Linked DNA regions of Homo sapiens: regions 1, 2, 4, 5 and 6 are each linked to region 3. Evidence: promoter capture Hi-C in 16 types of primary human blood cells and fetal thymus (Javierre and others, 2016). All regions are on one chromosome and are shown on one strand. Each heading gives the region's core, a stretch centred on a gene start or on the middle of the fragment in contact. The rest is flanking DNA. Distances are from core to core; before and after follow the strand shown. Region 1 holds the start of WDR4 (WDR4 tRNA N7-guanosine methyltransferase non-catalytic subunit). Region 2 overlaps LOC101928369 (a long non-coding RNA gene). Region 3 holds the start of HSF2BP (heat shock transcription factor 2 binding protein). Region 4 overlaps U2AF1 (U2 small nuclear RNA auxiliary factor 1). Region 5 holds the start of CBS (cystathionine beta-synthase). Region 6 overlaps LOC101928369 (a long non-coding RNA gene).

Evidence for each region. The method cuts DNA at HindIII sites, captures the fragments that hold promoters and counts their contacts. A CHiCAGO score of 5 or more calls a contact.
Region 1: the fragment with the promoter of WDR4 here is called in contact with the fragment with the promoter of HSF2BP in region 3 in 3 of 17 cell types (fetal thymus, M0 macrophages and total B cells); the score reaches 6.6 in fetal thymus.
Region 2: a fragment that was not itself captured here is called in contact with the fragment with the promoter of HSF2BP in region 3 in 12 of 17 cell types (M1 macrophages, naive CD8 T cells, total CD8 T cells and 9 more); the score reaches 9.9 in M1 macrophages.
Region 4: a contact is called between a fragment that was not itself captured here and the fragment with the promoter of HSF2BP in region 3, in 2 of 17 cell types (M1 macrophages and M2 macrophages). The highest score is 5.8, in M1 macrophages.
Region 5: a contact is called between the fragment with the promoter of CBS here and the fragment with the promoter of HSF2BP in region 3, in 2 of 17 cell types (total CD8 T cells and total B cells). The highest score is 5.3, in total CD8 T cells.
Region 6: a fragment that was not itself captured here is called in contact with the fragment with the promoter of HSF2BP in region 3 in 9 of 17 cell types (M0 macrophages, endothelial precursors, M1 macrophages and 6 more); the score reaches 11.0 in M0 macrophages.

What each region holds. Positions count from the first base shown.
Region 1 is chr21:42,878,020-42,881,388 of GRCh38, forward strand. It overlaps WDR4 (WDR4 tRNA N7-guanosine methyltransferase non-catalytic subunit), which reads right to left and starts at 1,520. Exons shown (of 11, transcript NM_018669.6): 1 at 1,388-1,520. The coding sequence starts at 1,476. LOC105372817 (a long non-coding RNA gene) reads left to right here and starts at 1,693. Exons shown (of 4, transcript XR_937765.3): 1 at 1,693-1,736. RefSeq lists enhancers at 1-545, 546-1,510, 1,163-1,212, 1,243-1,352, 1,423-1,772. The HindIII fragment of the contact is 4,183 bases long and covers 1-2,847 here.
Region 2 is chr21:43,111,415-43,115,187 of GRCh38, forward strand. All of the region lies in intron 2 of LOC101928369 (a long non-coding RNA gene), which reads left to right. Among named protein-coding and RNA genes, the nearest start is that of U2AF1, 5.7 kb to the left of the region's middle. The HindIII fragment of the contact is 4,508 bases long and covers 1-3,773 here.
Region 3 is chr21:43,657,951-43,661,591 of GRCh38, forward strand. It overlaps HSF2BP (heat shock transcription factor 2 binding protein), which reads right to left and starts at 1,538. Exons shown (of 9, transcript NM_007031.2): 1 at 1,436-1,538; 2 at 111-370. The coding sequence starts at 146. RRP1B (ribosomal RNA processing 1B) reads left to right here and starts at 1,610. Exons shown (of 16, transcript NM_015056.3): 1 at 1,610-1,844. The coding sequence starts at 1,715. RefSeq lists a silencer at 1,643-1,832 and an enhancer at 2,553-2,602. The HindIII fragment of the contact is 5,137 bases long and covers 1-3,641 here.
Region 4 is chr21:43,094,830-43,098,448 of GRCh38, forward strand. U2AF1 (U2 small nuclear RNA auxiliary factor 1) reads right to left here. Exons shown (of 8, transcript NM_006758.3): 4 at 865-914; 5 at 609-707. Among named protein-coding and RNA genes, the nearest start is that of U2AF1, 11 kb to the right of the region's middle. The HindIII fragment of the contact is 4,462 bases long and covers 1-3,587 here.
Region 5 is chr21:43,074,276-43,078,058 of GRCh38, forward strand. CBS (cystathionine beta-synthase) reads right to left here and starts at 1,560. Exons shown (of 17, transcript NM_000071.3): 1 at 1,495-1,560. The HindIII fragment of the contact is 28,872 bases long and covers 1-3,783 here.
Region 6 is chr21:43,128,316-43,132,243 of GRCh38, forward strand. The region is part of intron 3 of LOC101928369 (a long non-coding RNA gene); the gene reads left to right. Among named protein-coding and RNA genes, the nearest start is that of FRGCA, 11 kb to the right of the region's middle. The HindIII fragment of the contact is 3,058 bases long and covers 483-3,540 here.

The DNA.
Region 1 (3,369 bases), core at 270-2,769, 780 kb before region 3:
GGGCGACAAAGCGAGACTCCTCAAAAAAAAAAAAAAAGAAAAAAAAGAAATTATGTTCTGATACTGTTGAGCGTTCAGTGGGATTCTGTATACAAATTTCAAAGAGCCATTACTATTTAGAAACATATCTCACCTACCTGAAAGTGTTCCCATGACCCCAGGCACTTACCAACATAAGAATCACCCATTTTCCATACTGAACCTAAACTTCGGTTTATCCCATCCTCACCCCCTGGCACGTATCTTGTACATATTTATAGCCTTTAAAGCGAGTGCACCAAAAAACTTTCCATATGGAACCGTGGACTTGTCTTCCAAGTCAGAAACTCCACCAGCCACTAGAATTTCCTCAAAATGCAAAGACTGAAGGTAAGCAAATCATGTCTAATATATCCACAGCTCACTCTGGCAGATATTAGACCGTGAGTCTCTAAAACAAAATCATCTGGGATATGTGACGGGTTTCTGAGTACAATTTTTGTGAGACCTAACTTAACATCGAATTGGCTTTCTAAAACCAAACGAACAAAAAATATACAGTATATCTGACAGACACGTCGTCCGTTTCAAATATGAAATCACAAATAACCTGGGAAAGGAAACGAGGGGCTGAAACTGACAGCACTACTAATTGCTCCGAGAGTCCTGAGTTAGGACTGTTCCATCAACAAACATTTACTAAGTTAAAAATCCCCTGCGTCGTCCTAGCACTGGCGATACACTAAGGAAGGAGAATAAAATTACGGAAAGCAAAACCCGAGCCGTGCGAAGGGCCACTAGGGAGGTGCGCACTGCGAGCTCCACGTGCACCCTTGGGTTGGGTAAGTGTCGGAGATGACTTGGAGCCCTAAGGAGCAATTAAGGCCAGGTGAGTGGATGCAGGCCGGGAAGAGGGAACAGACAACCCTGCAAAAAGAGGGAGCGCGCTTGGAGGTCAGTGAGCTCGCAGTGAGTAAGCCCCTCCCTTCTCACCAGGGAGACCCGAGACCCGCTTCTTCCCAGTTCTGCAGAGCGTGTTCGGCCGGGCCTTGCTGACTGGTCAGCGTCGCCCCACGTGCTCTACCTACCCGGTCCCCGCCGGCGCCGCGGAGACCGGAAGCGACCCGGCGGCGCTAACCGGGCAAGAACACCGCAGACCAGCCATCTAGTGCAAGGAGCGCGCCGGAGCCGGGGAGCGGACGCCGAGAGCGGACGGCGAAAGCGGACCCTCCAGGCGCAGAGACGCGGCCAGGCCGAGACTGCGGCGGAGGACTCGTGGGCTGGAGCGGAGTTCCCCGGGGTCACCCCAGAGTGGGTGCGACCAGGCGGTGCGGGAGAAGCGGGGTCGCCAGGACCCGACGCGCGCCCGCAGCCTGGTCTCCCTGTTCCAAGACCAAGGCCCCCTCACCTGCTTGCTATGGAGGTGGCCAGGAATCGGCTGCCGCCCCGCACCACCAACGTCTGCCCGCACAACGCCAGTCCCACAGAGCCCGCCATGTACCCGCCCGCCTCACCGCCATACACATGTGCCAGCCCAGAGCCTCTTCCTGTCCGCACCGGTCGGTGACGCCAGGCGCAGACGCCGAGAGATGACGTATACCCCACGTACCGCGCATGCTCAAGGACGAGCCTGCCTTGAGCATGCGTGAAAGGTGCTGTGACCGCCCTCCGGGTTGTGGCTGGTGGCCTTCGGTGTTTCGGGTTTGGCAGTTCACTCACCAAGGTGATCTGATGGAGTGCACTTCGCACGATTCCAAGTACTTGCCTAATGTTCATCCTTTCCTCTAGACGGGGTAGGGCTGGTTCTGGATCTTTTTCCGCGGTAGCTGGAGAGACGTAGGACCTGATGATGGCTACTAGATGCCTGGTAAATGATCCTTCAAGAAGTGAATGAACCGGGGGCCGTGGCTCACATGAAGTCAGCAGTTCGAGAGCAGCCTGACCAATATGGTGAAACCCCGTTTCTACTAAAAGTACAAAAATTTGTTGGGCGTGGTGGCGTGCGACTGTAGCCCCAACTACTTGGGAGGCTGAGACAGAAGAATTGCCTGAACCCGGGAGGCGGAGGTTGCAGTGAGTCGAGATCGCCCCCGCTGCACTCCAGCCAGGGCGACAGAGCGAGACTCTCTCTCAAAAAAAAAAAAAATGTCCAAGATGTGGTCATGGGTGAGGGTGTCTCGGGTGGCGTCAAGTCTGAGGTCGCTAGAAGTAAGCCTACTGAATCTTTGCACTTAGACAAGCCACAGATGCCTTAAAATCTCCGAACTGTAGTGATATTTTCAACCCAAACTATGGTTAGTTTCCAGTGTTCATCCCAAGATCCCCAAAAGCCTCTTACAATCCCAGCATCAGGCACAAAATCTAGGATCTCACGGTCTGTTTTAGATTGGCTTGTCCGGTGCAGCTCCTCTTGATCCAGAGACTTACAAACTAAAAAGATTAATTTTCTCTCCCGTGCACGCAATATATGATGGTGAGCCGGGACCAGATAACCACAATAAATACTTGCATGTGAAAATGAGAAGAGGAGGAGACACAGTAATCACTGGTCCAAAGCAATTCTGAAATCCTACTGGAAGATGTTTTCAGGCCCTACAAGAATAAGAAGTCTTAACCAGGCCCGAGTTCTGCTTCCTGGGAGTATCTCCCCAGGCTGTATCTCAGCACAGCTCTTGCCTCTGCCCTCTTGGGTGTCCCTCCTTTTCCAGCACCTTCTTGGCCATGTTGAAGAATGTGCCCTTTGAGAAACTTTCTCAACCTCCTTCCTGTCATTAGCAAATTGTGAGCCCACAGACCTTTTTTCACTCTAAACTGTTCTGTCCACATTTTGGCAGCTGGTGGTGCTTTGTTCACTACAAGTCCCTTAAAAGCTTTATGGGCTTCTCAAGAATCTGATTCAGGTGCTCTCCATGCCCAAGAAGCCACTCCCACTAGTCTTTTTTTTTTTTTTAGACGGAGTCTCGCTCTGTCGCCCAGGCTGAAGTGCAACCTCCACCTCCCGAGTTCACGCCATTCTCCTGCCTCAGCCTCCTGAGTAGCTGGGACTACAGGCGCCCGCCACCACGCCTGGCTAATTTTTTGTATTTTTCAGTGGAGACGGGGTTTCACCATGTTAGCCAGGATGTTCTGGATCTCCTGACCTTGTGATCCGCCTGCCTCGGCCTCCCAAAGTGCTGGGATTACAGGCGTGAGCCACCGCGCCCAGCCACTTGTTAACATTTAAATCATTGAGATCACCTTGACTTCAGCATTATTCTTAAGGCCATATTTTATTAGCGCCACTCTGAATTTGATCTTTGGCCCAGGTTATGACTTACTTTGAGAACTTGTTACCAACTATTGGGTCTAATAATACTTTCCCCAGCTTCAACCCAAAGTGTGCTCTAAATT
Region 2 (3,773 bases), core at 726-3,225, 550 kb before region 3:
GTGGCACGATCTCAGCTTGTTGCAACCTCCCCCTCCCGGGTTCAAGCGATTCTTCTGCCTCAGCCTCCCAGTAGCTGGGATTACAGACACCCACCACCATGCCTGGCTAATGTTTTGTGTTTTTAGTAGAGACAGGGTTTCACCATGTAGGCCAGGCTGGTCTCGAACTTCTGATCTCAGGTGATCCACCAGCCTTGGCCTCCCAAAGTGCTGGGATTACAGGTGTGAGCCACCACGCCCAGCCATCCACAGTTCTTTTTAAAATTTAGAAGTAGTTTCAGGCTGGGTGAGGTGGCTCACACCTGTAATCCCAGCACTTTGGGAGGCCAAGGTGGGTGGATCACGAGGTCAGGAGTTCAAGACCAGCCTGGCCAAGATGGTGAAACCTCATCTCTATTAAAAATACAAAAATTAGCCGGGCATGGTGGCGGGCGCCTGTAATCCCAGCTACTTGGGAGGCTGAGGCAGAGAATCACATGAAACCCAGGAAGCGGAGGTTGCAGTGAGCCAAGATGGCGCCACTGTACTCCAGCCTGGGTGACAGAGTGAGACTCTGTCTCAAAACAAAAACAAAAACAAACAAACAAAAAGACCATGGAGGCTTTCTCCTGTTTGTTTCCAGCTGCTGCTTCTCCTTCTGCCTCTGGGATGATCTAAACTCATCTCTTTCTGCCTGTTCCCTCAGCTCCCATACATCTCTTAAGCAGTGTTTTTGGAATTCCACAATGCACACATTTCCTTCTCTCAAAAAGGGGAAAGTATATTTAAATTTGGAACAGACTGGGTGCGGTGGCTCACACCTGTAATCCCAGCACTTTGGGAGGCCAAATTGGGCAGATCACCTGAGGTCAGGAGTTCGAGACCAGCCTGGCCAACAGGGTGAAAACCCGTCTCTACTAAAAATAAAAAAAGATTAGCGGGGAGTGGCTGCGGGCTCCTGTAATCCCAGCTACTTGGGAGACTGAGGCAGGAGAATCACTTGAATCCGGGAGGCAGAGGTCGCAGTGAGCCGAGACGGCGCTATCGCACTCCAGCCTGGGCGACAAGAAGGAAACTGCGTCTCAAAAAAACCCAAAACAACAACAACAACAAAAATAAAAAATAAAAAATAAAAGAAATAGGCCAGAAAAGAAATGTTAGCTCAAGCCTGTAATCCCAACACTTTGGGAGGCCAAGGCTGGTGGATCACATGAGGTCAGGAGTTCAAGACCAGTCTGGCCAACATGGTGAAACCCCATCTCTACTAAAAACACATGTGGTGGCATGTACCTGTATTCCCAGCTACTCGGGAGGCTGAGGCAGGAGAATCGCTTGAACCCAGTAGGTGGAGGTTGCAGTAAGCTGAGATGGTGCCACTGCACTCCAGCCTGGGCGACAGAGCGAGATGCTGCCAAAAAGAAAAAGAAAAAGAGAAAGGAAGGGAGGGAAGGAGGGAGGGAAATTAAAAAAATAAAATGCTAACATCCAGGGAATTAGTTCAGCTGAGATCAGATCTGAAACAAGTCAAAACCCTTTAAATGCTCAAACTGCCTGCTCTGGAGCCCCTGCAGGGTTTGTCAGTGCTCCAGCCTGTGGGCCAGAGGCTATGAGTCTCTACAAACATGAGGCTATGTTTGCAGCCTGGGTTCAATTTCCAGTCCTGTTTTTTTTTTTTTTTTTTGAGACGGAGTCTTGCTGTGTTGCCCATGCTGGAGTGCAGTGGCATGATCTCGGCTCAGTGCAGCCTCCGCCTTCCAGGTTCCAGCAGTTCTCCTGCCTCAGCCTCCCGAGTAGCTGGGATTATAGGTGCCCACCACCACGCCCAGCTAATTTTTTGTATTTTTAGTACAGACAGGGTTTCACCATGTTGGCCAGGCTGGTCTTGAACTCCTGACCTCAGGTGATCTGCCTGCCTCGGCCTCCCAAAGTGCTGGGATTACAGGTGTGAGCCACCGCGCCTGGCCTTCTTTTTTTTTTTTTTTTTTTTTTGAGATGGAGTTTCGCTCTCGTCACCCAGGCTGGAGTGCAATGGCATGGTCTAAGCTCACTGCAACCTCCACCTCTCAGGTTCAGTCAATTCTTCTGCCTCAGCCTCCCAAGTAGGTGGGATTACAGGTGCTCACCACCACGCCTGGCTAATTTTTGTGTTTTTAGTAGAGATGGGGTTTCACCATGTTGGCCAGGCTGGTCTCGAACTCCTGACGTCAAGTGATCCACCCACCTCAGCTTCCCAAAGTGCTGGGATTACAGGTGTGAGCAGCAAGATTTCTTTTTCTGAGCTGTCTTTAGAGTGGTTCTGACGCTTAGGAAGACTGCTTTGCATTTCTTTGGAGATGCTTGGTTCAGCCTTGGTTAAGTCATGACCTTCGTTATGCCATTACCTTGGTTAAATCTTTGTTTTTGAGATGGAGTCTCGCTGTGTCACCCAAGCTGGAGTGCAGTGGTGCGATCTTGGCTCACTGCAACCTCTGTCTCCTGGGTTGAAGCAATTCTCCTGCCTTAGCCTCCCGAGTAGCTGGGATGACAGGTGCATGCCACCACACCTGGCTAATTTACCTTGGTTAAGTCTCACTGGTTTTGTGAGTAACTTGAAAATGTCCATTTCGTTTTTTTTTTTTGAGATGGAGTTTCGCTCTCATTGCCCAGGCTGGAGTGTAATGGCCTGATCTCGGCTCACTGCAACTTCGGCCTGCCAGGTTCAAGCGGTCCTCCTGCCTCAGCCTCCCAAGTAGCTGGGATTACATGCATGCACCACCACACCTGGCTAATTTTGTATTTTTAGTAGAGACAAAGTTTCACCATGTTGGCCAGGCTGGTCTTGAACTCCTGATCTCAGGTGATCCACCCACCTTGGCCTCCCAAAGTGCTGGGATTACAGACATGAGCCACCGCACCCGGCCAAGTTTTTTCTTTTTTTATATGTAATAAGTTGGATAAAGTGTTTATAAAAAGTTAAAAGTAGGCCCTCAAGCAGGTAAAGTAGGCTTGCTTCTTTTCAGAGCTATCCATGCTGATTCCAGGCATAGAGAATGCCTCCTTTGCCCTATTCATTAAAGGGCTTCACCCTGAAGTCAGTAATCTAATAGAGAAACAAGCTAAGTTGAAAAGACCCTGTGATGGTTAATATTAGCTGTCAACCTGATTGGATTGAAGGATGGTAAAGTATTGTTCTTGGGTGTGTTGTGAGGGTGTTGCCAGAGGAAATTGACATTGGAGTCAGTGGACTGAGAGAGGAAGACCCACCCTCAGTGTGGGTGGGCACCATCCGATTGGCTGACAGTGTGGCTGGAACAAAGCAGGTGGAGGAGGGTGGGAGAAGCTGGCTTGCTGAGTCTTCTGGCTTTTGTAGCCACCCAGTGAGTTCACCTAGCCGGCTGCCTAGATGGAGCGGATTTATCAGGACAGGGGAATTGCAATGCAGAACGAGTAATTTACACAGAGCTACCTGTGCGGGCGACTGGAGTTTTATTATTACTCAAATTAGACATCCCAAGAATTTGCAGATCAGAGTTTTTAAAGATAATTTGGCGGCTCAGGAAGTAGGAGTGCTGATTGATCTGGCTGGAGATGGAATCACAGGGAGGTCAAAGTGAGGTTTCCTTGCTGTCTTCTGTTCCTGGGTACAATGGCAGAACTGGCTGAGCCAGATAGCCGGTCTGTGTGGTATCAGCTGATCCATAGAGTACAGGGTCTTGCAGAATAAATACCTCAAGCACTGATCTTCGGATTACAATGGTGATGTTATCCCCAGGAGCAATTTCGGGAGGTTTGGACAGCCAGAGGCTGGATGACCT
Region 3 (3,641 bases), core at 288-2,787:
CCCCAAGCACGCGACAGCGAGCCGTCTCCGAGCGCACGGGGCGAGGCCCTGAGGGGAGCGAATGGCGACGGTTCAAACACGCTGGCGTCGGCCAGGGCTTCCTCACTAACCCGGCAGGCCTCCTCAGCGGCGCCCGCTTCGCCCATGGCCGCTGCCGCCTCCGCTCCGTTCGCCTGAGCGTCGGCGCGCCCTCTGACCCCTCACGCCAGAAAGCGCGGGAACGAATCCACGCCGGGGGTCGGGAACGGAGAGCCGCCAGGCCCAAACCTCCCAGAATTTGCGCAGTATTCTCGGCCTAGAGAGCGAGGAGTGGCCTTGGCGAGGTCCCTCTTTGGCTCTTCTGGCTTAGCCGGGGTTTTAAACTTGTTATCTGCAAAGCAGAAGGAAAGTCAGCCCCTGATGTAAGTGTCAAGTAAAATAAATCGGATGGGTCCTTTCCTGTTTGGCGAGGAATGCTACACTAAGGGGGACTGCGTTCAAATGGGCAGTCTTTGCTGGAAACCTCGCCTCCGCGCGCCTTCCCTCGCTCGGATTCAGGCGCTTTTACGTTAAGGGTTGAATTTTTGTGTCAACAGGCACCTCGGGAGGTCGCCTAGACAACTGAGCGGAGCAACTGAGATAACCCCCGCTACGTGTGGAGTGACCTAGTCCATTAACTTGCCCCAGCACGCCCGCTGAGTCCGCAAAATATAGGATGGCCTCGGGTTTTAGATGAACCCAAAGCTAAGATTTCTTCCCTCTCTGGAATTAGCAAGCAGCCCGCCCTGCCCAACTCCCCTGGAAGCGCGCGTGCTCGCCAGGCCTCGGGACGCCTGCGCGGGCGCCCTTGCACTGGCACCAGGGCTCCGGGGTAGGGGCGCACCGATCTGCCCAAGCCTCTGCAGGCACTGGAGGAAGGCGAGCCCTCCACCCGCTCAACAGGCCCCAGTGCCGGCCTTTCCTTCCAGTCTCAACTCCACCCGGGGGCCCGGGGGCTCCACAGTTAAAAACTCCACGCCACGGAGATCGCAGGTAAGCTGCTGGCTCAACGAGGTGTGCTAAATGGGATTAAAGATCCTGGACCGTGGCCAGGCGCGGCGGCTCAAGCCTGTAATCCCAGCGATCAGGGAGGCCGCCGCGGGAGGATTGCTTGAGCCCAGGAGTTTGAGACCAGCTTGGGCAACATAGCGAGACACCGTCTCTACAAAAAAATAACAAATAGTGGGGCGTGATGGCGCGCGCCTGTAGTCTCAGCTACTTGGGCGGTCGAGATGGGAGGATCGATCGAGTCTGGGAGGTCGAGGCTGCAGTGAGCCAGGATCACCGCCAAGATCGCGCCACTGCATTCCAGCCTGGGCGACAGAGGGAGACCCTGTCTCAAAAACAAACAAAAAATCCTAGACCGTTTACAAACAGCCTTCCGTCTCTTCCTGGTCAAGTCCTAACCCTGGCTAACCTCGCCGTCTACAGCCTGAATTTTGGCAACCGAAAGGCAGCGCCGGCGCCACGTGCACACGGGCTGGGCCGCTCCGCCAGCTGCCAGGGCCACTGCCGCGCTCACTCCCAGAGCGCGCTGCGAGCCGCGGCGCCTTTGTGACGCCATCAGCCCGCGCGCCGCCGCCGCCGCCTTCTGTGCAGTCGCGGCCCGGGCGGACGGTGGCTGGCTGCTCCGCAGCGCTCGGCTGGCTGCAGCGGCACCGCGGGTTGCGCGGCCGGGGATGCTCCAGCGGGCGCGATGGCCCCCGCCATGCAGCCGGCCGAGATCCAATTTGCCCAGCGGCTGGCGTCCAGCGAGAAGGGCATCCGGGACCGAGCGGTGAAGAAGCTGCGCCAGTACATCAGCGTGAAGACGCAGAGGGAGACAGGTGGGCGCACGGCCGCGGTCAGCCGCGCCACATGGCGGGCCGGGGGCCGGGGCTGGGGCTAGGGCCAGGGCCCCGGCACGGAATGCGGCTTCCACGTGTTGTCGTGACACCCAGCGTGTGCTTCGGTTTCCGCGCTGCCGGAACCGCTTCTTGCTGTGTCTAGTGCCTTTTTACACTTAAGGAAACGGGTTGAGGGGGTTCCGTTACTTATGAAAGTCACAGTAAGCGGGGAAGCTGAGAAAAGACCCACATGGGTCCGATTCCCCAGCCGGCATCTCGAATCACTGGGCTGCCCTGATTTGCCCTGGTGTCCGGTCGGTGATTGCCGCCTTCCTTTGACCAGCACCTTTACGTGACGGGGCTGCAGGAGAGAAGACAGACAAAATCACTACCCTCGAGGATCTATTAGTAATAAAGCAAGGAGGCAAACAGGCAAATAAAGTAGACCTTGTGTAAGTGTAGTAAAGGAAATGAAAACCAGGTAGCAGGCCGGGCGCGGTGTCTCACGCATGTAATCCCAGCACTCTGGGAAGCCGAGGCGGGCGGATCACCTGAGGTCGGGAGTTCGAGACCAGCCGGACCAACATGGTGAAACCCCGGCTCTACTAAAAATACAGAATTAGCCGGGCATGGTGGCGCATGCCTGTAATCTCAGTACTCGGGAGGCTGAGGCAGGAGAATCGCTTGAACCTGGGAGGCGGAGGTTGCGGTGAGCCGAGATCGCAGCATTGCACTCCGGCCTGGGCAACAAGAGCGAAACTCCGTCTCAAAAAGAAAAGAAAAGAAAAAAGGAAAAAGAAAACCAGATAATAGCAAAAAGGGAAGGAGGTTGCTCTTCTTGATAGGCTGTTCTGGGAAGGCCTCTCTGGGCTGATAATCAGCTCAGATCTGAAGAGAAATGAGCGGAAACCGCCTATGCAGAGGCAGGAAAGAGCTTCACGTGCCCTAGGAGTGGTTTGAAAGACCAATAAGTTGGGGTTGGGGGGGCGAGTGTTATGAGATGAAGTTGGAGATGTAGGCAGTGGCCAGATCACACAGGGCTTTGTAGTTTAGATTTTAACGGCACTGCTGTTGGATGATTTCATTTACCTGATCCAAAAATACTTTCTATAAACTCTTGAGTGAGCCCATACAATATGAACTACAATGTGTAATAGAGGTTTTAAGATAAAGTTTTATTTAGTTACTGATGGTACTAATACATTTAGAATCTGCTTAAAAGAACAGATATTATCTCCCCCATCACTGACATTCTCAGTTTGTTTTATTTTTAAGAGAAATCACCAGACTACCCAAAAAAAGAAAATACACTTTCCTGGGAAGTCTGATAGAAAAAGGAATAAAGACCAAAATTCCTGACTTTGATTCTGTTAAGAATCTCCCCAAGAGATTTTGTTTAGTCTCACAGTTCCAGGTACCCCATATATGCTGGTGGTTTCTAAACCTAAATTGTTGTCCCAGCCCATTCCTACTTGCAGCTCGGATGTGCCTTGCTAGCCTGGCTTCTCTACCTGGCACCTCACACTCAGGATGCCAAAAAAAGTTCTGTTTTCTTTCCCCGAAATCCTGTTCTCTGCTGCTGCTCCACTGCCACCTGTTTTCTTTTCTTTTGGTTGCTGGTTCCCACCAGCCATTCAGATTCCAGCCGGACACACGGGATTGTCCTGGACTCCTCTGAATTCCTCATCCTCTTCCCCTGGCCCACATCCAGTGGGAGGACCCCCGTCCTCCCTCGTTCACCTCCTGATGACATAAATTCTTGACCGTGGGCTCTTTGTATCTCACCGAAACTTCTGC
Region 4 (3,619 bases), core at 107-2,606, 560 kb before region 3:
ATAAGACTTTCTCAATTACCAATCCAAGTATATCAGAGAGAGATATACACACTCAGGTATAGTAAGGTGGAATAGTATTACAGGATAATTGAAAAATCCTTTATTTTCAATGAGATTAACTTCAAGATAGTCCAAGATTTTGCCAAATGTTGCCTTCATTTTTCAAATTCAACTGGTTAAAGGAGCAAATATGGCTGTGTAGGCAAATAAAGTTTTATTCACTAAAAAAGAAAAAAGAAACCAAACATGTGAGTAAACCTAACTTTTCCTTAGTCCACACAGCTTCTAAACCAACAGGTACTAAATATTCTACACTGAAATAACGATGGCTGTGGTGTACGGTCCGTCCTTCAGTTCTGCTGGCTGGGCGCACGTGTGGGCTGGCCACCGCCACATATGACGCAGCTGGTAGGCGCCGAGCCAGTGCACCTGAGCCCTGCTGTGCGCCTGAGCATCCAGGATCTCAAGGTGCATGGCGACAGGCACCCCATCCTCTGTCGGCCTTGGCCCCGGCACACTAAGCGGCTGCACCACTGTCTCGCTTTCGCCTGTTGGCCTTGGCCCTGGCACACTAAGCGGCCACGCCGCCGTCTCGCCCTGGCTCCTACCTTGACGTACACGTTCCCCACCAGGTGGTCTCCCAGGTTGTCACAGACGTTCATCTCCTCTACTTCCCCATACTTCTCCTCCATTTCTGTAAAAACCTCCTGAAGGGAGACCACAGTGGTTTAAGACTCGTTATACATTACAAAGTGTCATTAGATATAACTCATGTATGTTTATTAGCAGAGAAACATTTTAAATCCTTCCAAACAGATACAGAAGATCAACAGGTCTATCAGTCACAGAGTTCAGTTCTCTCACCTCAAAAAACTCATCATAGTGTTCCTGCATCTCCACATCGCTCACGGCACCTGCAAACAACAGAAATCTTGCTGGTTAGAACATGTTAACCGAGTGAACTCTTGTGTTTAAACTCAAACTGCTACAGTAACACACACGAGATTATCTAGAGAAAAGCCTGGCAGAGCTGCACTCTGCAGGAGCACTCAGGAGACTGAGCCACATGGCTACTTGTGAATGGTGTCAAGTGTGGTGAGATTTTAAATGTCCCCATGACAGTCTCGATTCTGGCTACTAAGGTGTTAAAATCACAACCAGCTTTAATCAGCATCAAAAGGGCCACATTTTCAGAAACTGTGAGGAAAAAGTTGACTCTCAAACTACAAATTTTTTTTTTACACCCACAAGATGCAGTCTGGCTCTGTCGCCCAGGCTGGAGTGCAGTGGCACCATCTCAGCTCACTGCAACCTCCACCTCTGGGGTTCAAGCGATTCTCCTGTCTCAGCCTCTGGAGTTGCTGGGACTACAGGCGACTGCCACCACGCCCGGCTAATTTTTTTTTTTTTTTTTAATTTTTAGTACAGACAGGGTTTCACCACGTTGGCAGGCTGGTCTTGAACTCCTGACCTCAAGTGATCCGCCTGCCTTGGCCTCCCAAAGTGCTGTGATTACAGGCGTGAGACACCGCACCTGGGCTCAAACTAAGAAATATTAAAATTTTCTTCCTTTTAAGATTTAGAGTAAAGGCCAAATAAGCACACTGATGTCTTCCCCTCTTCTATAAGTTTAAAATGAAACCTGAAAGCAGGGTCGATGATTAAAAGCTGATGTTCCTAACTAGTCTTTTATGGACTGCCAGCCATGGTATGCTCTCAAATTCTTCTGATGTGATTAAAATCCAAGCAACCATGAAGATTCAGTAGGACAGTTCACGCAACCTTACGGTATTGTGGACGCCCTCAAGTAAAGGGAATGTTACAATGTTTTGCTGATGAAAGCATTCTTTTTTTTTTCTTTTTTTTGAGACGGAGTCTCACTCTGTCGCCCAGGCTGGAGTGCGGTGGCGCAATCTCGGCTCACTGCAACCTCCGCTTCCTGGGCTCATGCGATTCTCTGCCTCAGCCTCCTGAGTAGCTGGGATTACAGGCGCCCACAACCACGCCCGGCTAATTTTTGTATTTTTAATAGAGATGGGGTTTCACCATCTTGGCCAGGCTAGTCTTGAACTCCTGACCTCGTGATCCACCTGCCTCGGCCTCCCAAAGTGCTGGGATTACAGGTGTGAGCCGCCGTGCCCGGCGCAAGTATTCTTAAGTTTTATATTCCCAAACTATTTTCATCAGTTTATTCTTCATAATTCACATGTATTAGGTAAAATCATGTCTGTTGCGTGGGTAAATTTGGCAAATTTACACTCTATCCCCATCATCATTCTATCAAATTTAATTAATTTTTTTTTCTTTTGAGATGGAGTCTCTGTCCACTCCAGGCTGGAGTGCAGTGGCGTGATCTTGGCTCACTGCAACCTCCACTTCCTAGGTTCAAGCAATTCTCCTTCCTCAGCCTCCCAAGTAGGTGGGACTACAGGCGCGCACCACCATGCCTGGCTAATTTTTGTATTTTTAGTAGAGACGGGGTTTCACCATGTTGGCCAGGCTGGTCTCAACCTCCTGACCTCACGTGATCTGCTTACCTCAGCCTCCCAAAGTGCTGAGATTACAGGCATGAGCCACTGCCCCCGGCCCACTCTATCAAATTCTAGAGTTCTCTAAACCTGAGAAATCACAGAGCTGGTGTATCAACAAACATGTTCCAATCAGCTAGATTAGGGGCTGGCAAAAGCCTGACTGGTTTCCAGATTGGGCCGGCTGCCTTAGCCTGTGCACCCAACGTGGGCATCTGACTGCTGGCACACGGGTCTTTGAGCTTGCTCAAAACTCTTTTTATCTTTTTTTTTTTTTTTTTTGAGACGGCGTCTCACTGTCTCCAGGCTGGAGTGCAATGGCGTGATCTTGGCTAATTTTTGTAGTTTTAGTAGAGACGGGGTTCCACCATGTTGGCCAGGATGGTCTCAATCTCTCGACCTCGTGATCCACTTGCCTCGGCTTTCCAAAGTGCTGGGATTACAGGCGTGAGCCACCGTGCCCGGCCCCCTTTTTATCTTTGAAGATAAAAAATAACTTCTTATTTTCTAATTCTGAGAATGATTTAAGTTCACTTTCTAACCTATCCGGGGCTGTTTTAGTTATTTTTGAACTTCCAGGAATCTGCTTTCGAACCCAAATTTTATTAAGTGTAACTACTCGGACAGCCTGCCAATCATATCACAGGATATCCCAATTGGAAAGCTATTGGGAATGTACCTTCCTCCCCGAGTAGAAATCAAGTTATAAACGGCCAAAGTAGCCTATTCCAAAGGGCAGATTTTAATATTTCAAATTCACTTCCTTCCCACATAAGAAGAATGTGAAGAGGAGAAAATTATTCACATGCTCAAAGTTTTAGCAGGTTTGAGAAATGGTTTTGGGGTGATTATTTTAAATTATTGGCTATATTTGTTCTGCTTAAAATGTTTCAATCAAAGTGACTTGAAAGGCAGAGACAACTGCATTAAGATACAATTAAAAACTTATTTGTGACTCAGCCTATGTTAAATACTACAACTTGGAAAATAAAGCAGTTTTCTTACAGAAATATCATTCTTAAACTGGGATTGATAGTTAACTTTAACCCACGCATTTGAAGCTTATTTTTTTACATACTAAAGGGTATGTT
Region 5 (3,783 bases), core at 310-2,809, 580 kb before region 3:
TACCCAGGCCTCAGCTTGGCCTCCTGGACTTCCCAGCCTCCCCTCCACCTTTGCAATTCACCAGACTGGGGGCCAAAGCGGCTTCAAACGACCCTGGAGGGTGGTGCTTTCAAGGTCTTGGGACCACGGACTTGTCTGAAAATCCGAAGGCGTTGGATCTTCTCTTCCCCAGAAAAATGCACCCGCTTTCAGAGGTTCGTGTCCCACGCTTTTCTTTCTATCCCAACCTTGTAAGAAGCCGCCGCCGTGAGCGGAGCAGCACCTTCCTCCGCGGGTCGCGGGAGTCACCTACGGGAAGGGACTCTCCGTCTGGCACAGGCCCTGTCTGGCCTGGGGCGCGCATGCTCCGCCGCCGAATCTTCCAGAAAGCCGTGGACCCGAGGCCCCGGCAGACGCAGGCGGCCCAGCGCCTTGCTTTTGGCCCCTCGCCTCGCCCTGGAGCCCTCTCTCGCAAGGTAAGGGACTGCCGGGAACGCAGATCGCAAGCCGTCGGGGCTCTGTAGAACTCAGAGGCGCTCGGCGGAAAGCTCGCCAGGCGACCCAGACCCGAACCCGCGGGCTCCCCAAGACAACAGCGCCGGGCGGCCGGATGCACGTGCGTCCCGGGAAGGCGGGTTCAGCTGGCATCGCCTGGCCGGTTCCGTTCGCTCCTTAAACCACAAGACCCCCTTGGGGTCACGACGTTCCCGGGGCACCCCTGCACTCGCGCGCCAGCACTCCCGGAGGGGCCTGGGGAAGGCCACGCGCACGGAGAGCGGGAAACTCCTCTAGGTTTCCAGGTGGGAGATCCAGACCCTACTGAGACCCGGAAACCGCCGGCCACTCCGCCTCCGGAAGCGACACTTTGGGACAAAGCTGGGGACAAGTAAGCCCAGAAGATCCTCGGGAAGCCGAGAATTTCGCGCTCCGCTCTCCCACCCACGCTCCGCCTCCCGCTTGCATCCTACAGCTCAGCTGCGGTCTCGCCTGGGGCTCAGGGAAGTGAGGTCCCAGGAAAACCTCCATCCCCCGAACGCAACCTGGGCAGAGCCCCGCGTCCCTCCCCCAGCGGGCACCCACCTCGCGTGCCGCCCGCGCAACGACAGCGTTTACCGCCACCCCACACGGTCCGCCAAAAAGGGCGATTTGCAAACAGCCATTTCCCATCCACAATGCAGCGAACTCAATGCTGGGCACCGAAACGTGCATCTCCCCCGGATTCCCACCCCGCGTCCCTGCTCCACGCTCCAGGACTCGCCGCCAGTGGGGTCCACTCCGCCGGCGCGGGGGCTGGGGTGGGAGCCCGGGGCCACGTGCACGGCCAGCCCCCATCTTCTGGGCGGTCAAGACCGCAGGCGTGGGCGCCGGTGGGGCGGGGGTCTTGGGAGACCCTGTCTCGCCGCCTTTCGGTGCAGATGATGCAACTCTGGGCGGAGGCGCGGAGAGGGAAACCGGGACCCAGTTGAGATCCTCTGTCCAGAGAGGGGAGCGAGTCTCGGTGGGGCCGGATCTCACCTGGACGGATACATGGAAAAGAGGGGCGAGCGGCTGCCCCGACTGCGGCGAGGCGGAGACGGCGACCCCGGGGTGGCGGCCTCGCGGGGACCCACGGCGAGGGGAGCAGGCGGGCGGTGATTGGCGGAGAGGCGGGGGCGGAGGCCGGCGCCGGCCAATGTCTCGTGGCAGAGCACCCGCCCCCCCAGCCCCTCCTCCACCCCACCCAGCCCGGGCCCCTCCCCCCCACCCCTTCCCCACCCCGCCGCAGCCTGGGACCCTCCGGCCTGCCCGACCCCCGCCCTCCCCGGGACCCCGGCATGCCCCCACCCCAGTCCGCCCGCCCCATTCCCACGCCCTGTTGATTCAACCGCAGACCCGGGTCGCCGCCCCCTCCCCCGCCTTCCTCTTCGCCTGAGCCCGCCCGCCCCGGGTTCCAGCCACCCCCACCCGCGGACCCCGGTGGTGTCTTCTACCTGGTGTTCCGATGCTGTTTTACTTGGTTAACTTCTTGCCCTTCGGGAATTTAAGGAACCTTTACTGATGAGCTTGAAACGTGCGTCCTGGTGGGTGGGGGGCCCTGCGCGTCCTCGAGGACCGACCCCGAGGGCGTGTGTCGCGGGCCCGGGAGGGGGCGCCGCGCCGGGGCGGGACTCGATGGCCGCGCTCTGTGGCCGCCGGACGCCGTGCGCAGCGCCCCGCGTGACCGCGCCCAGAGCCGGGTCCGAACCCCGAGCCGAGGCGCAGAACAGTCGCCTTGCGCGGCTCCGGTGCGGCCCACGGCCAGGGGCTGCCGGGCGCTCTCGGGGACGGGGCCGACTCCGCGCAGGGTGGTAGCAGGGGCGCCCCGCGGGGCTCCTTCGCCAGGTCCCGGAGGCCGCGGGCGGGGCCGTTTCCCAAACATCGTGCTCTGGACTTTCAGAGGCTGAACCTGATCCCCCCGCCCTATGGCTAAATGGGGGATCCCAGGCCCCCGAGTCTCCCCCCGGACCTGCAGCGAAAGACACGGACGGTGCCCATCAGCTCTGGGCAGAGGAACGTGCTGCGCCTCCGCAGCGTCCCCGGCTCAGGTCAGAGCGATGCTCCGCAGCCTCCTCCGGCCCGCGCAGCTCCGCCGCGGTCTCTGCCACGTGGGGCTCACAGTAGGGGAGGGAGTGAGACGTGAATTAGAATTAAATGTCCACTGGCAGGAACTGACACGAAGAACAATAAAGCCGGCGATGTGGGGAGGGGACAGGGATGGAGTTACATCATGAAGGCTCTGGAAGGTGGCATTGGAGGCCGGGATCGCGCCACTGTCCTCCAGCCTGTGCGACTGAGCGAGACTGTCTCCAGAAAAAAAAAAAAAAAAAAAAAAAAAAAAAAAAATCCTGTCCAGTCTTTATAAGAAGAGAGACGTGGACACAGACACGCGGAGAGAAAAAGGCCATGTGGAGATGGCGGCAGAGATGAGATGTGCTGCCACCAGACGAGAAATGGCAGGGATGGCTGGCGGCCTCCACAGGGCTGGGAAAGGTGGCCAGGGCCTCCCTCAGAGCCTTCAGCCAGCCTGCGGGAGAGAAAGATGATAAACGGTGTTGTTTTTGTTGTTGTTGTTTGAGACAGAGTCTGTGTCACACAGGCTGGAGTGCAATGGTGAGATCTTGGCTCACTGCAGCCTCAGCCTCCCGGGTTCAAGCGATTCTCCTGCCTCAGCCACCCGAGTAGCTGGGATTACAGGCACGCACCACCATGCCAGGCTAATTTTTGTATTTTTAGTAGAGACGGGGTTTCATCATGTTGACCAAGCTGGTCTCGAACCCCTAACATCAGGTGATCCATCCGCCTCGGCCTCCCAAAAGTGCTAGGCTCACAGGAGTGAGCCACCGCGCCCAGCCCAATGTGTGTTGTTTTAAACCACTCAAGTTTGCAGTAATTTGTTACACAGCCCAAATACTTTTTAATTTTTTAGAAATTTTAACGTAATTTTAGATTAGAAAAGTGGCAAGAACCATACAGAATGTCATATTCCCTCATCCAGATTTTCCAAATATTAATTTTTTTTGCTTCTATTATCAGAAACTCATTGTTATTTCAAATGTTAAGTTTTTACTACATTTGCTCCCTCTCTGTCTCTCCACACACACACACACACACACACACACACACACACGTGTGCAGGTGTGTATGAATCTGTCACTCAGTCTATCTGGTTTCTCTAACTTGTTATTTTGTTTTGTTTTGTTTCTTTTTGAGACAGAATCTTTCTCTGTCACCCACGCTGGAGTGCAGTGGTGTGATTTCAGCTCACTGCAACCTCCCCCCCACGCT
Region 6 (3,928 bases), core at 762-3,261, 530 kb before region 3:
GGCCATTCCTGAGTGTACCTGGATCACTACAGCAGTATCTATGCTGTTTCCTCCTTTTCTAGGTGACCATTTGTCCTTCTGCCAGAGGGCTCTGTGGGAAATACAGATTCGATCCTGCTGTTTCTTACTGGGAACCCTCCATGGCTCCCAGTCCCTGGAATGTGCCGGGCAACTTTCAGCTCTTGGTCGTGGGAGCCTCCTGCCTGTGCACAGTGTGTTCTTCCAGGACCCATGCCCACTCCCTCCTTCCCAGCATTCCAGTTTGGCCCTTGAGGCCTCCTTGGAGTCATCCCCCTCCCAGATGTGCAATGCATTTTGGGTTCTCAACAGCTTCCCCTCCTTACCTGCAAAGGTTGAACAGACCTGGATCTGCTATCCTGCTTTGCCACTTCCTGCTGCATGACCTGCATTATGAAGTTCTCTAGACTCAGGGTTTCCATTGGCTAATAGGATCAGCCAACCTGCCTTTGAGGAGTGGACGAAGCTTGGCACTTAGTAGGTGCCCATGAGGCATCAGAAACTGCCCTTGTTGAATGATGCTCTAATGCGGTGTTGACATCTCTGTCCTACTAGACTGGGGTTGCTTTGAGGACTCCAATTCTGTCTTTTCATCCTGATTCCATGATGGAACAGACCCACAGGCCCTTGTCAGCATTCCAAAAAGCAAAAAGCTGTGAAAATGAAAAGGACTTTTTTTTTTTTTCTGTAAACTTGGTGCCAAAATTTGCAAAAGCTGACCTGACCCAAGGTGTTGGCAGCATCCCAACACTCCCTCTGTTACAGGCACCTCTGCTGGTTGCTGACAATGTATATGTTTTAATTTTTAAAATGCATTTGTCTTTTTGTGACCATGGGTTTAATTGCACTGTGAATTCATACAAAAAGGGTAGCATGTACCCAGTGCTCACTGTGGGAAGGACACATGGAAACACTCTCTTTGTCAATAGTGCAGAAAGCATCAGTGATGTTGGGAAGCCATCAAAAGACAAGCAGTTGGGCTGTGCGTGGTGGCTCATGCTTATAATCCTAGCACTTTGGGAGGCTGAGGTGGGAGGATTGCTTGAGGTCAAGAGTTCAAGACCAACCTGGCCAACATAGCAAGATCCCCTCTCTATTAAAAAAAAGACAAACAGTTGAAAATTTATAATAATTGTGATTACCAAGAGCCATTGAAATATGGAAAACACAGGGTCAGTGGGGTGTGGTGTAGGGAGAGAGATCTTGACCAGGAATGGATGGAACGGAATTGGCAATGAAGTAGTCACTGTATGCCAAGGAGTGGTTTGTTGGTTATGAAAGAAGCTGGAATACAGCAGGAAGAACTGAACTTTAAAGGTGAGCATGAATATTCAAGAAGTGTCATGGTGTAAAACAATCTGCATAGCTGTGGTGGAAAGGCTTCTTTCCTGATCAGGAAACAGCTGAAAATTACATTGATGGATTTGTATCCTCTGAAAACCTTAGTCTCAACCAGGCGCGGTGGCTCACGCCTGCGATCCCGGCACTTTGGGAGTCCAAGGCAAGTGGATTGCTTGAGCCCAGGAATTTGAGACCAGTCTGGCCAACGTGGCAAAACCCCATCTCTGCAAAAAATACAGAAATTAGCCAAGCATGGTGGTGCATGCCTGTAGTCCCAGCTACTCTGGAGGCTGAGGTAGGAGGATCACTGAGCCCAGGGAGGTTGAGGCTGCAGTGAGCCAAGATGGTGCCACTGCACTTCAGCCTGGGTGACAGAGAGAGACCCTGTCTGAAAGCCAAAAAACAACAAAACCTAAGTCAGAACAAGTTTGTGTAGCTGATGAGTCAGGCAGCTTCACCTGTGCTCCTTTCTAGACAGGCAGGATGGTTGCGGAGAGTCACAACAGGCGTCCAGGAGGAAAGGCACGAGATGATGCTGGCCAAAGCTAGTTGTGGTTGGAAAAAGCCACTGGTGTGAACGGTGTATGCTAGTATGCAAGGGAACATATACTGGGAACTCGAGCCATGTTTTCTGCATGGTTTAATAATCCTTTGTATCAGTGCCAGGAATTCACTGCAGATAAGCTGGTCTGGAAGAAAAACGAACATTTTGTTATTTCTGCACAGCTGCTCCACACATTCCTTTCCTGAAAGTCTTTTGAAAAGCAATGTTTCTGACATTTACTTTCCACGATTTGTGAAGGGAGTTTTACACTCCAATAAGAGTGAATATAAATGATTTTTTGGGGGGAAGGGGGAATCCTGCCATTAACAGAAAGCAGGGCTTCCTGACTAAGTTCACTCACAAGGCTGCCATTCACACAGTCACAAATGCTCGGACAGGATGGACAGTTCCACTAACGTGCGCTTGGTTGACTGTGTGAACCCCAACCATTTGAGACAGGCCTCAGTTAATTTAGAAAGTTTATTTTGCCAAGGTTGAGGACGTGTACCCGTGACATGGCCTCAGGAGGTCCTGACAACATGTGCCCAAGGTGGTCGGAGCACAGCTTGGTTTTAGACACTTTGGGGAGACCTGAGACATCAGTTAACACATGTAAGATGAACATTGGTTTGGTCCGGAAAGGTGGGACAACTCAAAGCAAAAGCGGAACTCAAAGCCGGAGGGGGCTTCCAGGTCATGGGTAGATAAGAGACAAGTGGTCGCATTCTTTTGAGCTTCTGATGAGCCCCTCCAAAGGAAGCAATCAGATATGCATTTATCTCAGTGAGCAGAGGGGTGACTTGCAGTAGAAAGGGAGGCAGGTTTGCTATAAGCAGCTCCCAGTTTGACTTTTCCCTTTAGCTTCGTGATTTTGGGGGCCCAAGAGATTTTCCTTTCACAACTGCACGAGCACTTTGACCTAAAACAATTCTTGAAACCGAACCTGGAGATAAAGCCCATCTATGGCAGAAGAAGGTGATAGCAAACCGCATTATTGACCCTCAAAGTTTATCAACCAAAAGTGGAGTCAGGAGAAAGTCACAGAGAAGAGATGCTGAACCTAGAAATGGGGCACCTATTGTGCCTGCCTCGCATGATGGAGAAATTGCTGGAATCGACTGAATACCAGTGACAATGGGAGGGGAAATGTCGGGGAGATGTGGACCCTGGGGAGTCCCCACAGACTATCTGGCAATATCTGTGGCCTGCTAACTGCTGGCTTCAAGGACATTTATCAGTGAGCAGGAGGACCCCTGAATTAGAGAGATGCTTAGGTGTGGCACTGGTGTTGTGGGAGGAAGTGCCGAGAAGCCCATTGACACGGTGCTGCCCCAGGACTTCAGAGACTCTTCAATCCATCCTCCATGCTGCCTCCAGCCCCATGACCTCAGCAATGTATCACTGCTGTGCTCCCTTTCCCAAGACCCCCAAGCAGCCAGATGTAGCCTGATTCATTACATGTATGCATACAGGTGTCAATCTAAAATAGTCAAAAGGGCCAGAATCTAGTTTAAGGAGAGTTTATTCAAGTGCAAGGTTTAAGTCCAGCCATCCAGGAAGCACAGATTCCAAAGAATGGAAGTCAGTGTTCTGAAGTATAGAAGTTTGGGACCATGTATATAGATAAAGTTTATGGAAGCTTACCAGAATTTCAACATCTTTAGGCTTTAATGCATAGTTACAATGGTCTGATTAGTCGAGGTGGTCTTTTTCTTTCAAGAAAGGTGTATTTGGCCAGGCATAGTGGCTCATGCCTGTAATCCTAGCACTTTGGGAGGCCAAGGTGGGCAGATCACCTGAGGGCAGGAGTTCAAGACCAGCATGGCTAACATGGTGAAACCCTGTCTCTACTAAAAATGCAAAAATTAGCTGGGCGTGGTGGCAGGCACCTATAACCCCAGCTACTCGGGAGGCTGAGGCAGGAGAATTGCTTGAACCCGGGAGGCGGAGGTTGCAGTGAGCCAAGATCACACCACTGCACTCCAGCCTGGACAACAGAGCCAGACTCTGTCTCAAAAAAAAAAA